2 separate regions of the Homo sapiens genome follow, and region 1 is linked to region 2. The links are contacts of gene promoters, found by promoter capture Hi-C in human tissues and cell types (Jung and others, 2019). All regions are on one chromosome and are shown on one strand. Each heading gives the region's core, a stretch centred on a gene start or on the middle of the fragment in contact. The rest is flanking DNA. Distances are from core to core; before and after follow the strand shown. Region 1 has its middle 20 kb from the start of MFSD6L. Region 2 holds the start of MYH10 (myosin heavy chain 10).

What was found. Contacts are between HindIII fragments. The study calls those that stand out against the background at their distance.
Region 1: a fragment that was not itself captured here is called in contact with the fragment with the promoter of MYH10 in region 2 in 1 of the 25 tissues and cell types used here (aorta).

What each region holds. Positions count from the first base shown.
Region 1 is chr17:8,777,682-8,780,620 of GRCh38, forward strand. No RefSeq gene overlaps it. Among named protein-coding and RNA genes, the nearest start is that of MFSD6L, 20 kb to the right of the region's middle. The HindIII fragment of the contact is 3,441 bases long and covers 1-2,939 here.
Region 2 is chr17:8,629,461-8,632,160 of GRCh38, forward strand. MYH10 (myosin heavy chain 10) reads right to left here and starts at 1,265. Exons shown (of 43, transcript NM_001256012.3): 1 at 1,194-1,265. RefSeq lists enhancers at 1-416, 417-1,194, 1,195-1,972, 2,671-2,700 and a silencer at 1,457-2,136. The HindIII fragment of the contact is 16,199 bases long and covers 1-2,700 here.

The DNA.
Region 1 (2,939 bases), core at 205-2,704, 150 kb after region 2:
CATTAATTAACATAAATATAGGTTAATTCAACCCAGAAATCAAAATAAAGAGACTCTGATTGAATATAAAAACAAAATCCAATAAAATACTGTTAGCAAAAGATAATTTATGCAAAGTTGGAAAGTAAAAGGTTAAAAAAATCTAGGCACATTAAAAAAAGAAAGAACTCCAAGGTAGCAATTTTAACATCAGAAGAAAAATTAATTTAGGGCAAAAATAACATACAGGACAAATAGAGATGTTATATACTAACAAGGGATAATAAATCAAGAAGAAATAACAATCATAAACACATATGCATCCAACAATGTAGCCTCAAAATGTATACTGGGGAAATAGATATATGAACAATTATATGCAGAGATTTTAGCACAGCTCTTTCAGAATATGAATCAAGAAGGCCAAAGATAAGCAAGATAGAATATTTGAATAATATATTTAATAATTTTGAACTAAAACATACACACACAAACATATGCTTTTATACTTAACAAAGGAAATATCCATCAATTACAAAAAATGAATTATGAGGAAATTACATCCTCCAATTATAGTGAAGTAAAGTTAGAATTCATTATAAAACGGGCACTTAAAAATATCACATTTCTGGGAAGAATTAATATTAACTTTGGGCTAAAGAGGAAATGACAAGGGAAATTATGAAATACTTAGAACCAAATTATAATGTCAAAGTGTGTGCTGAATCACAATGTCAACATTTATACTAAAGCAGTACATAAAAGAATTTAAAATTTATGACTATGCTTATTAGAAAATAAAAAATACTCAGAACAAAAAGGTAAGTGTGTAACTCAAGAAGTTAAAAAAAAGAGCAATGGAGTGAACCCACAGAAATGAGAATGAAGGAACTAATAAGGATCATGGAAGAAATAAAAAGAGAGAGCAAAGACAATGGATGAAATTAGCTAAACCAAAACTAGCCTTTTTTCTGGGGGGTTGGGGGGAGAACAGTAAACACAAACCTCTGATAAGAGTAACTAAGCAAAAAGGACTGTGTTCAACTGAGTATAGCACTTTCTTGCTCATGCTTTTCACCTCATGGTTGCAAGATGGCTGTTTCTCCTCTAAGGAAAGGGAAGAGGAGGAGGTAGAGGCTACATCTGGAAAGCAGAAATCTTTACCAGACATCCTTCGCAGAATTTCTGATAAGGTGAACATTTTAAGGTGCAGAGTCTGGTAAGGTGAACATTTTACTTGAACACAATTGCTGCCAGGGACATAATGTGGGTAAAGAAGAGGGGAAATGGATATTAGGTAGGCAAGCAACAGTCTCAAGAACTATACACTAATACATTTGAAAACTTGGGTAGAAAAGGATAAATTTCCAGAAAATGTAAAATGTCATACGAAGAAATAGAAAATTACATAAACATTTGTATATAAAGTTTTCTTGAATACAAGAAAAGTGGCTCTACTGAACTCCAGGCACCAAGTTTTACCATATGTTGAACAGAGAAGCCTTATGTTATACAAGTTGTTCCATAAAATAGAAAATAGAAAAAGGAGGGAAAGCTGCTTGATTTATTTTATGAGGCTAGTATAATCATAATGAGAAAACAGGTTAAGGAAAGTGAAAGAAAAGAAAACAGAGTGAATATTAATGCAAAAAATTTTAAATAAAATATTGGCTACCCCAATCCAACGGTGTATTTTTTAAATCCTAATTTATGAGGATCAAGTTAGAGTTAGCTAATAATTCATGTTTACTTAAAAATCAGAAAGTAGGCCAGGCATGGTGGCTCACGCCTGTAATCCCAGCACTTTGGGAGGCTGAGGCGGGTGGATCACCTGGGGTCAGGAGTTTGAGACCAGCCTGGCTAACATGGTGAATCCTCATTTCTACTAAAAATGCAAAAAATTAGCCGGGCATGGTGGTGCGCGCCTGTAATCCCAGCTACTTGAGAGGCTGAGGCAGGAGAATTGCTTGAACCTGGGAGGCAGAGGTTGCAGTGAGCCGAGATCGTGCCATTGTACTCCAGCCTGGGCAACAAGAGCAAAACTCTGTCTCAAAAAAAAAAAAAAAATCAGAAAGTATATTAATATACAATCACCACAGGAATAAACTAGAGAAGGAAGAAAACCACATGATCTTAATAGATCCAGTAAATGCTTAATAAAGTTTATGATGAGTGTTATGAAAAACCAGGAATAAAAAGGAACTTCTTTAATTTAATAAAGCCTTCAGCAAACATCATACTGAAGCTTTAGATGTAGCCTGGCATGGTGCTTTTAATCCGAGCACTTTGGGAGGCTGAGGCAGGAGGATTGCTTGATGCCAGGAATTTCTACAAAAATTAAACAATAAAAACATTAGCTGGTCATGGTGGCACCTATAGTTCCAGCTACTTGGAAGACTCGGGTGGGAGGATCACTTGAGCTTGGGAGTTCAAGACGCCATGAGCTATGATCATGTCATTGCACTCCTGCCTAGGCAACAGAGTGAGACCCTGTCTCTAAAAATCAAATACACAAACAAACAGACAAAGACTTTAGACAGATTCTTTTTAAGGTTGAGAACACAAAAATGGTTACTCTACCACTACTATTCAACATGGCATTGGAATTCCTTGCTAACACACCAAGACCATGAAAACCACCACCACTGCCACCACCAATAACAACAAGAGGGTCAAGTGCTAGCAGGGTAAAGGCAAAATTGATTATTTGCAGATGAAATGTTTATTTACATAGTAAGCACAACAGAATTAAGAGATAGAGAGTCAGAACTAAAAACAGAGTTCAGCAAGATGGCTGGAGATGATGCCCAGCATACAGAAACTGATAGGGTTTGTTTGCACTGTCAATGACCAATTAGAAAATATAAAAATATACAAAATGATCTTTTACAATAGCATAAAAAACTGTCAAGTACTTACGACCTTATATAATGAAACTACATAAGATCTTTGTGGAGCAA
Region 2 (2,700 bases), core at 15-2,514:
CCCGGTCTGACCCGCCGAGTCGCCAACCTCCTTCCTAAGGCCCTAGTTCCAAACAGGCCTGGCTGGGGGCCTCCCGCTTCCCAGGGCCGCATCCGCCCACCACAGGCCCACAAAGCCCCCACAAATGCCAGGACTCCGCGGCTTCAACTTCCCTCCGAACCAATTCCAGTCCGATTTTATGGGATCAGGGTGTGACCCCCAACTGCAGAAGGCAATGAAGAGACTGCGGCGAGCCATTCCCAGCTCGCTTACACAATAAAGGGATCCCGAGGCGAGTGCTGACCCTCCCCCCGGCCGTCCTGCTGCAGCGCGCCCCGCCACATTTCCCGCCTCGCCCCCTCAAACCGCCTGGGCCTCGCAGGGCGTCCACCCCCGGCCTAGGCGCTCCACGGAGGGCGCGGCAGGACGCCCTCCTCCCGCGCTCCTTCCCCGGCGCCGGCGGAGTCCGACCCTCCCCACGCCCGCGGCCGGCTCCGGAGCCCCTCACCCGCCGCGCGCTTCCCCGGCCGCGCAGAGCCAATGCCCTCCTGTCCCTCCACCCACGGGTCGGGCGCGCGCCGCCCGCCTTCCAAGCCCATGGTGAACCCCTCTGGTGCTGCGGGGGACCGGTCGCGCCAGGCCTAACCCACCCAGCAACCCACGCAGGGGCCCTTCCTGCCCAGCGCCCCCCCACCCTACCGCCGGGACTGCGCTTTCCAGCCCCGCTTAGAATCCCCTCTCTTCCTGGGAGGCAGACACTGGCTCGCGGGGCACGCCGAGACCTCCGCCGGGACACTAGCCCCTCGACCTCGCGCCCCCAGGGATCCCACCCACCGAGAACCTGGTCCTCACGTCCCCACCCCCAGATCTCCATCCCCCAGCCCCCCAGGGGTCGCCCTCCTGCACACCCAGGCCCTGACCCCCGCGGGTTTCACAAGGACTTCATTCCCCGCTCCTCCGGGAGTCTCTCCATCTCCACCCACTGAGGTCCCAGTGCCCCCAGCCCAGGACCCTGCTCAAACTAACCTAAGGTCCCCGCAGCACAAACCCTACAGCTCAGAAGCCCCTCTGTCTTCCCCAGCTCCCGCTTCGGTCCCCCGTTCCTGTCCTCCAGAGCCGCCCGGGACCCCTCAGCCCAGGAGCCATTCCTCCCTCCACAAACTGTCCCCCAGCCCTGGGCCGTGCACTCGGACCCGGGTAGCCGCACCTCTCACCTTCAGCCGAAGATGGTGGCGCGGGCGCACGTCCCCAGCCGCGACCACAGATCCAGCGCCTCAGTCCCAAACCCACCGCTGCCTCCGCCGGGCTCCTTTAGCACTGCTGCTCGGGGCTGCCCCACCCACCCCTACCCTCATTGGGCCAGCTCCACGCCCATCACCGCCGCCCCCAGACCCACTGGTTGGTTTGCGCGCCCATCTCCAAGGGAAGACGTTAGCAACCCGAACGAAGCTACCTTCCCGAGTCCGGCTCCCTCCACCCACCTGGAATGACGCTCATTGGCTCCCGCTCCCAGCCCAGGCCACAGAGGCCCCAATCTCATGGGCTGGCTCTTACGCCCGTCATAGGCTCCGGGAGGTGCGGCCGGGGCAGTGGCGCGGGATTGGCTGGCTCGTGCGTAGATGGACAGCTGAGGCTGGCTGAACGCCCGGCGATCCCGCGAGGCTGCGGGTGCGGGCCCCGCGGCGGCCGGCGCGCTGCGCTGACATTGGCTGTGCGGGCCGCGGGGCAGGTGGGCCGCGGCAGGAGGCTGGCGCTCTGACTGCAGACTCCTCGTCCTAGCGTCAGGCAGCCGCCGCAGCCGCAGCACATTCGAGCGCCCGGTCGCCCCCTGTGCTTGCGGCAGCCGGCATGTACCGCAGCGGGACGGGGTTCCACCGCGGAGTCGCGGGCCCTCAGCGTTGCCTGCAGGGGCGGGGCGGAGCGCGGTCCAGAGTCCTGACGTCACCCCCGGGGCTGCGCGGGGTTGGGGCCGCGGCGCTGCGACTCACCTGCAGTGGGGGAAGGAACGCGGGGGAGGGCGCTGCTCCGCCCATGCGCACAGGGTTTGGCCCGGGACCCGGCTGCGCTCCACGCTGCGGCCACTGTCCCGACCCCGGCCCCAGGCGGACTCTGCCGGGATCGGCCGAGCGCCAGGCGCAGGACACGGTCCTCCAAGGTCGCAGTTTTGGTGTTAGCGGGGTGAGAGGCTCTCCTGCCCAGCCTCCAGGCAAGGCTGAGATTCCAGAAGAATGAGAAGAGAACCGACCTTGGAGAGAAAACTTGGAAGAAACTTTATTCACCTCATTCATTCACTCGTTCAGTCGCTCCTTCATTCATTCATCAGAGCTCCCTACGTGAAGGGCTATGAGAGGTTCTTAAGAATATAAGGCTGGATTCCTGTAGCGCTGTCATATCCCCTAGGGCTTATGAAAACGTTGGAGACTGAAAAACAGTGGCCCCAAAATAACGAAAGGAAACTGGAAAAATCAAAGTAAATAAAATTTAATGAAATGTCTGCAGAATCTAGGCAACTGCAACAAAACTCTTGCATAATTATATATAAATATAATAAAGTCTAAATCACATGAACAAAATGAATTATTCATACAAAACCTGAAAGTCAAGATCATAAAAATTCACAGCAAGATGCAGTTATTAATCAGTTATTAATGTAGGCTATGGGAGCATTTTAATACATGTGATAATGATGTGTTTGCCTAAGCCTAGGAAACGTCTAGTCTG